2 separate regions of the Homo sapiens genome follow, and region 1 is linked to region 2. Evidence: promoter capture Hi-C in human tissues and cell types (Jung and others, 2019). All regions are on one chromosome and are shown on one strand. The core of a region is centred on a gene start or on the middle of the fragment in contact, and the rest is flanking DNA. Distances in the headings are between cores, read along the strand shown.

Region 1 (4,437 bases), core at 1,220-3,719, 52 kb before region 2:
CAGGGGATAAGGAAATGCTGAATTTGAATGGAGCTCTGAACTGTTAACATCAGGGGCTCTGAACAACAGCAGATGCCCTTGGAGCTTCTAATAGCCATTGCCCTGTTGAAACCTTTGGAATCCTAAAACCCCAATTCTCATATATTACTAGCAGTGTCAAATTGTAATCACAATGATGGGAGCTTTTGGCCAAATTCCATTACTGCTACTACACTGGGACAACCATGGGGATTTTACCATAGACAATTACTGTAGGAGGCCTCCAGTTTCATGCCTTTTGAAAGTCAATCATTGGCATGTCAAGCATTAATTTAGGCTTATTCTGTTAGGAAAGTATGTAAAATTATTTTGACAACTGAAATATGCATAATATTATGGGTCATATGAGAAGAGCATTCCAACAGAAAGATAAATGCACATAAGCGTTCCTGGTTAAATGGAAATGGCATATTCAAGAACATGAGAAAGTGGACAAGTGGAGGTATCCATAGCATACATGAAAAGGTCTGCTATGTCTTTGGCCACATACTAATCTCCTTGAGTTTTTTACCCCATAGACAAATGGACCCCTCCCTATTACCAGTTATCAGAGGATGCCAAACAAGCAGCACCATGTCTACTCTCCACCATGTCAAGCGTAGAAAGCTGACACTCAACTTCAAAGATAACAACATTGTGACTGGTCTATAACTGCACTTCAAAAAAGAAAAAGATAAATCTGCCCAGTGGCAGAATTAACACTGTATCTCATCATCAGAGAAACTAGATAATAAAAACAATAATATAGTATACACAATTCTTAGGCAGCAGAGTATGGATTGGCAATTTAGTCTGAAAAATGAGCCTTATAAAAACTGAAAGATAACAAGGGAATCCATGTATGAGATGGTAAGTTACAGAACATTTTATGGACCTGAAGAGGGATAACCAAAGTGGGATAGGTCTACGCCTGTCATAAAATTTCATTCTGAATTCAGAAAAGGACTAGAATAAACAAATGGAAGACTTCATTAGCTCTTTGAAAGTGGCCTCTTGGAGACATGAAACAAAAAGGCATGGAAGCATTCAAGCAGTGCAACAATGTGTGCAAAAAATATGCATCCCACTCTCTCGAAGCTGCAAATGTACCAAAAATTGTTATGCTTATCAGCATAAAGAAATTGGAAACTAAAAGCAGTTATGGACTATGCATTAATTTCCTAGGGCTGCCATGACAAAGTACCACAAACTCGATTACTTAAAACACCAGCAATGTATTATCTACAGTTCTGGAAGCTCAAGTCCAACTCAGGGTGTTAGCAGGGTCAAGATTCCCTGAAATTGGTAGGGGGAAATCTTCCCTTGCCTCTTCTTAACTTTGGGTGATTTGTCAGGAATCCTTGGCATTCCTTGGCTTGCAACCATGGTGCTTCAGTCTCTGCCTCCATTGTCACATGGCATTTTCCCCCATGTGTCTTGTGTCTCTTTGTCTCTGCTGTTCTTACAAGGACACTAGTCATATTGTATCAATAATTCACCTTGCTCCAGTATGATCTCATCTTAACTAATTACAACTGCAATGACCCTATTTCCAAATAAGGTCACCTTCTGAGGATTCTGACGTTAGGACTTCAACACATCTTTTGGAAGGACACAATTCAACCCAAAATATAATATTTACTGAAAGGATCCAGGAAGACTTAAAGTTAGCAAGTGGATTATACTGGCCATTACCCTTAGTTCCAGGTGGATAAAAATGACTCTTGAATAAGAGAGACACTCGTTCAGGATTTGGATTTGCATACTTAGAAAATAAAGCAAATACCACTACCACTATTAAAGGCTTATAACAAGCTTATACTAATTTGAATGTTCAATACCTAATTAAGGGATCTATTTTACTCCAAGTTAAATATAACAAGTTATGAAGCATCATATACAATAGACTCATCATATACATCGATGTACAAAGTGGACTGATTGAAAACCTAAATCTGCTTATTAAATGTAGGGAGGGTGACAGGAGACTGGTAGGATAACTTTCACAACTGAATGAATTTGTGTCAAAATATATGTATGTTAAAGAAAAGAGGGATTGATGAATACATTATTGAGATATATTTATAAAGACATGGAAAAGTGACAGGAAAGATATAAGCACTTACAGAAACTTCCCTATTTCTAATTTTTTTCTTTGCTTGATAATATTGGTGAAACACAGATAGCATTTTTGAGTTTTGGAGGAAGGATCAGTTGCTGAACATGATGCTGTGACAGTATCTCTAAATATAACTGTCCATCATTCCTTCAGAATGAGTCATTCCTTCTTTTCATTTTTTAAAATGTGGGATTCGTGGGCTTTGTCTCTTTCCTGCTCAGTGGATGAGGCAGGCCTATCTGTTTGTGTTTGTCTAACCCTACTCCATACAATGATGAACAGATGAAGGGGAAAATCATTGGGTAGACTTTTGTTGCTGCCAGTTTTTTGGATCAGTCATCTTAATGCACTTAACAACCTAACCTCAAGGAGGATAATCTGGGTAAAAATTAATAAAAATAAAAGAAGGGTAAGTATTTACTGATATAGAAGAAAGCAAAGAAAAAAACCAATTACACAAAAAGAAAAGGCTAACATGAACTGGTTATCTCAGGAGATGTTGATAGCAAGAGACTATTATCTCTTGGATGTATTTTTAAATGCCATCCACAAAAACAAAGCTATTTTCCTGCAGAAACCTTCTTTCTTTAAAACCTTTGTTTAAAACATGTTCAAAGTGTCATGTGCTCTAATGGTGGAGGACGGTAAGCAAAGTAACAAATAATTGACAAATTGAAACCATTGTTAGGTCAGGGTTTGCTGAGGAAGCCTATGGGAATCTCTTTAGCTTCCTCAAACTAAATTGTATTTGTAGGTTACTAACTCCTGTTATGATAGTGTCGTTGGGAAATCAACATTTGGGGTTCAAAATGTGTACTCAGACTATTGACAGATTGAAACCATTGTTACGTCAGGGTAACCAGCAATAAGTCATTAATGCAAATAACATGTTTGATATAATTACAAAAGGATAAATTTAGCAAGAGAATAGAATAATTCTAAATAAATCTATATATACCCTAAACTGGAGTACCCAATACAAATAAAATTAGGTTGGTGCAAAAATAATTGTGGTTTTGATAAAATTCAGCATCCCTTCATAATAAAAACTCTCAACAAACTAGGCATAGAAGGAACATATCTCAGCATAACAAAACGTTATGCTGAGGCCATATATGACAAACCCACAGAAAACATAATCCAGAATGGGGACAAGCTGAAAGCCTCTCCTCCAAGAATTGGAACTAGATAAGAATACCCACTTTCACCACTCCTATTCAACATAGTACTGGATGTCCAACCCAGAGCAATTAAGCAAATATATAAATAAATTAGAAAATAAGTAAATTAGAAAAGAGGAAGTCAAATAGTCCTTATTTGCAGATGACATGTTCTTATATTTAGAAAAATCAAAAGACTCCACCAAAAACTCTTAGATCTGATAAATAAATTCAGTAAAGTTATAGGATACAAAATCAATATACAAAAATCAGTAACATTTCTAGAAACCATAAACAAAGTAGCTGAAAAGGAAATCAATAAGTAAATCCCATTTATAATAGCTAAAAGAAAATAAAATACTTAGAAATAAGTGTAACCAAGGAGGTAAAAGATTTCTACAAGGAAAACCTCAAAACACTGGTGAACGAAATTGAGGAGGATGGAAATGGAAAGACATCCACACTCATGAATTAAAAGAATTAATACCATTAAAATGACCATACTATCCAAAGCACCTATAGATTCAATGAAATTCCTATTGAAATGCCAATGTCATTTTTCACAGAAACAGAAAAAGAAATTCTAAAATTCATATGGAACCAAAAAAGGGCCCAAATAGCCAAAGCAATCCTGAGCAGAAAGAACAAAGCTGGAGACTTCACACTACCTGACTTCAAAATATATTCCAAGGCTATAACAAACAAAATATCATGGTGCTAGTATTAAAATAGACATATAGACTGACAGAAAAGAATAGAGAATCAGAAATAAATCCACATATTTACAGCCAACTAATTTTTAACAAAGGCATCAAAAATCTATATTGGGAAAGAGACACCCTCTTTAATAAATAGTGCTGGGAAAACTGAATATCCATATGCAGAAAAATAAAACTAGACCGCTAAGTCTCACCACATAAAAAAATCAACTTAAAATGGATTAAATACTTAAATGTAAAACCCAAAACTATAAAATTATTAGAACTAAACATGGGGGAAACACTCCATGACATTGATCTAAGCAATGACTTCATGGTTAAACCCCAAAAGCACTAGTAACAAAAATACAAAATAGACAAATGGGGCTAGGTTAAATAAAAAGTTTCTGCACAGCAAAGGAAACAATCAAGAGTGAAGAGA
Region 2 (4,398 bases), core at 822-3,321:
TATGTTTATGCCCAATATAATCTAAATTCACTGGTCCATTAATAAAAATTGATTCAGCCAAACTGATTACCTAGAATGTGGTTCACTCCTGAACACACTTCATCATTCATCTTGGGCTGTAAATTTAAAATGTCCTTCAATAGAGAAAAAAGTTGACGTAAAAACCAAGGAAAAGCAAGGTAGTATCTGACTTTCCCCAATCCTCTTCTTCCTCAAATCAAACTAGTTAGTAACAGAGACAAGACATCAATAGTATTCTTACTAAAAATTAAGAGCTTGGACATTCTTCTAAGATTTGGAAAAATATTGGAATTCCCTCGGGACAGCAAAGAAATCTGGCATCTTCTAAATGGGCATTGATATGACACTCCATTCAGCCCAAAAGTAGTCCACATTATTATCTAGACCAGTAGACTGATTTTCAAACCCATTTTTAATTTTGCAAAATGTTCTTTAGAGCCAACATGTAAGTTAAAGCAAAGAAAGACCATAAAGCAGGATATCCTGACTGATTGCATAGGCCCTGCTTTTAAACTCTATTTATCTACTGCCCTTTGATAGTCCCAGATACTCAACTTCACACACACACAAAATTTAATACAGAAAAAGAAACTGGTATTTAGTGGCTTAACAGGATCTGGAGATTAACGTGAAACTATAACACAAGGCTTGTCCCTGGAAAATGTGAGTACACTATGTTGGGGTTTTTCTGTTTTGCTTTTTCTACAACAGAGGGCTTTATTTATTTTGAAAGATTCTATGAAATGTTGCCTATGAAATAACATTATGGAAAAAAGTGAACATAAAAAGGCACATCACACCCAATTCCAATGCAGAAAAAAAAACCCATAATATGAAAGTTACTGTTCAAAATGTTGAAACGGGGCCATTTCCCACTAGTAGAGTAATAGGTAACCCCTCTTTCTTCTTCATCCTACTGCCCTGTATCTTGCAAATTCTCTAGAGTGGACATGCAATAATTTTGAAATGCTGTATCTCATTATTTTAACATAATATATGAAAATGCATAAAAATAGTAAAAGTACCCAAAATTCTAACATAATTCTGAAGTTTCAACAATATCAAGTGTGTTCATATTCCAGTACATTTTGCACTCACTTGCTAAAGAACCTTCTGTTCAGTAGGTGTTTTACTGCCTCTTTCACATCCTTGTTTCTAAGACTGTAGATTAAAGGATTCATCATGGGAGTCATCACCCCATAGAACATGGATATAATTTTGTCGGTAGCATCCAAGTCATCCGAATTAAGTGTCTCTTTAGACTTGGGCTTCATGTACATGAAGAGGATGGTCCCATAGAATATTATGACCACAGTCAGATGGGCTGAACAGGTAGAGGAAGCTTTGCTTCTCCCCTCGGAAGAGCTAATTTTGAAGATGCTCACAATGATTAACGTGTAAGAGACAATGATTAATAACAAAGGTGTCAATATGAACAATGTTGTGGCCACAAGCATGATGAACTCATTGTCTGAGATGTCAGCACAGGCCAGTTTCATGACAGCCAGAATTTCACAGGTGAAATGATTGATGATGTTATTCCTGCAGAAAGGCAATTGTACCACAAACACTGATTGTACTGCAGAATTGACAGCTCCTATGATCCAGGACCCAGCTGCCATGGGTACATAGGCATCCTTACTCATGATGATGGGATATCTCAGAGGGTTGCAGATAGCCACATAGCGGTCAAAGGCCATCATGCCCAGAAGCACACACTCTGTTGTCCCCATGGCCAAGCCGAGGAACATCTGCACTGCACAGCCAGAAAGGGAAATGGTCTTTCTTTCTGAAAGGAAGCTCACTAGCGTGGAGGGAATAGAGGTGGTGGTGTAGCAGATGTCCAAGAAGGAGAGGTTCCCCAGAAAGAAGTACATAGGGGTGTGAAGGTGAGGGTCCAAGATGCTGATTAAAATGAGAGTACCATTCCCCAGAAGGATGACCACATACATTATGAAGATGAGCACAAAAAAGAGTAACTCAAGTCTTGGGTGACCAGAAAGTCCCTTCAGAAAAAATTCCACCAGAATGGTGTGGTTTTCCCATTCCATTTTACTCTCTATTTAACCTGTAAGAGAGAGCATGTTAAGACAAATATTTATCTTACTCTGATTACTTTCAAGCATGTATCAATGAATATGTATCATAATCCCCAGGAAAAAGAAAAATAAAAAAGGAAAAGACCAAAGAAAGAAGAGAGAGCATAAAGAAAAGTGGACAGAAAAGAGGGAATTATGAATGGAGAGAGGGAAGGGAATGAATGAATGAGTGAATGGAGAGAGGGAAGGGAAGATAAAACTAACATGTTTCGTGCTACAGCCATTTAATTCATTTAATATCATCACAGTTCTAGGAGAGGCGTATTAGTATCCATATTTTACAGATGAATAAATCAAAGCAGATATGTTAAGTAAACTTGACCAAAGGTAAATACTATATAGCAGAGCTAAGATTCAAACCTAAATCTTCCTGTTGAAGTCTGAACTTTTTGTCATATTTGTCATCACATACATAAACTGTAGGTTATAATAGAAATGAGCATTGTATTACATATACTTGAACACTAAACTATTTTTATTGGCTATAAATCACCACACAATAGATCGATGCTCTTGTCACTCCTTGAAATTATACTATGTTACGTATGTTGTCTCTCTTTCCCAGTAGAATGTAAACTTCATTAGGGCTGGTACTTATTCTTGCTTATTTCCACAGCCCCTGTAGCTAGAATAGAACAGACACAGATGCAAATGTTCAAAAACATTTCTTGGATGAATGAACAAAATCAAAGGCAAAATAATTGCTACATTTCTTACTGTGTGCCAATCCTCTATTAATTGTTTTCTTTGTGCATTACATAATGGAGTCTGAATAGCAAGCCTATGAGGTAATTACTGTTACTATTAGTATCACCAAGCCTATTGTGTAGAGGGGAAAATAAGGCACAGAAAAGTTAAGTAATTTGCTTAAGGTCAATTTCATAAAGACAAATAAATGAAAGAGCAAGGACTTAAACCCAAGCAGTATGGCTTCAGAATTCGAGCTCTAATACTCATTTGGCAAAGAGAATTTGGCTCACAGACTAGAATACCTTGTATTCTAATTAACAATACTAATATTTCAAAAGAAATATCAGATAAAAACTGTGATCAGATAAAAAAAAGAAGATTTCAATATGGTAATTTGATAGCAGTTGATTTTATACTTTATATTTTGCTAGAAAAGTACTCATTTCTATAACAAATATTTTGTCACAGAGTTGCATTTGATCATTATAATTCTTGTGTCCTCCCTTACATGAAAAGTTCTCATTTTCATTATGATGCCTGTTTGACTTTTTTTTTTCCTTTATTCGACTCACAAGGGGTTTTCCTATATTACAGGTCTTTAAAAAAAAAAAAAAACAGCTTTAGGTTAGATTTATCCTCGTGACTTTTTGAGTTTCATTAAGTTTCTGTCTTCATAAGTTTCTTGTTTATTCGGATCTATTTTTCTAAGTTTCTGATTTCTAATTTCTATGTTCTCTATTCTAATACTATTTATCTAATTTCTTGAAATAAGAAGAAAAATTCTTATTTCCTCCTCCTTACTCCTCTATTTCTTGCTCAAATAAAGGCACTTAGAACAGTTTTTGTTCTATTATAGACTTAGTTTTCTATGAGAATTTTTTTTACTGGTTTCTAGATAATTTTTTTGTTTTTCTCTTTAGTTCCTCTTAAATCCAAGCATCTTTCTTCATTATTTAGTGATTAGGCATTTTCATTCTATTTTTATTATTTATTTCCCATTTTATTTAATTAATTTATATATTTTTATTTTTATTTTTTTCTGCGACAAAGTCTCGCTCTGTCATTCAGGCTGGAGTGCAGTGGCGCCATCTTGGCTCACTGTAGCCTCTACCTCCCTGGTTCAAGTGATTCTCCTGTCTCAGCCTTCTGAGTAGCTGGGACTACAGGCATGCACCACCACGCCTGGCTAATTTTTGTGTTTTTGGTACAGACAGGGTTTCGCCATGTTGCCCTTGCTGATCTTGCACTCCTGACCTCAAGTGATCCACCTCAGCCTCCCAAAGTTCTGGGATCAGAAGTGTGAGCCACCACGCCCGGCCCCATTTTATTTTAATAGAAAACATGACCTATAATTCTCTAGTTATGGACTTTTGTGCAGCCAATTGCATGATGTATGTTGTAAATGTTAACAAAAAAATGTGATTTCTCTTTGGGAAGATACATAGTTTTAAATACATGCACAAAACAGGTATACATGTAAAATTTATTAAATATATTATTAAAATCTTTGAAATAACCTATTTTCTGCTGCCTAGATTTAATGAATTCTATGTAAATATTGTTATCAAATTCTTGTATACCTAGAATC

Evidence for each region. Contacts are between HindIII fragments. The study calls those that stand out against the background at their distance.
Region 1: a contact is called between a fragment that was not itself captured here and the fragment with the promoter of OR13C2 in region 2, in 1 of the 25 tissues and cell types used here (hippocampus).

What each region holds. Positions count from the first base shown.
Region 1 is chr9:104,551,121-104,555,557 of GRCh38, forward strand. The region is part of intron 4 of LOC107987105 (a long non-coding RNA gene); the gene reads right to left. Among named protein-coding and RNA genes, the nearest start is that of OR13C8, 16 kb to the right of the region's middle. The HindIII fragment of the contact is 5,813 bases long and covers 1-4,437 here.
Region 2 is chr9:104,603,556-104,607,953 of GRCh38, forward strand. It overlaps OR13C2 (olfactory receptor family 13 subfamily C member 2), which reads right to left and starts at 2,072. Exons shown (of 1, transcript NM_001004481.1): 1 at 1,116-2,072. The coding sequence starts at 2,072. The coding sequence ends at 1,116. All of the region lies in intron 3 of LOC107987105 (a long non-coding RNA gene), which reads right to left. The HindIII fragment of the contact is 6,361 bases long and covers 328-4,398 here.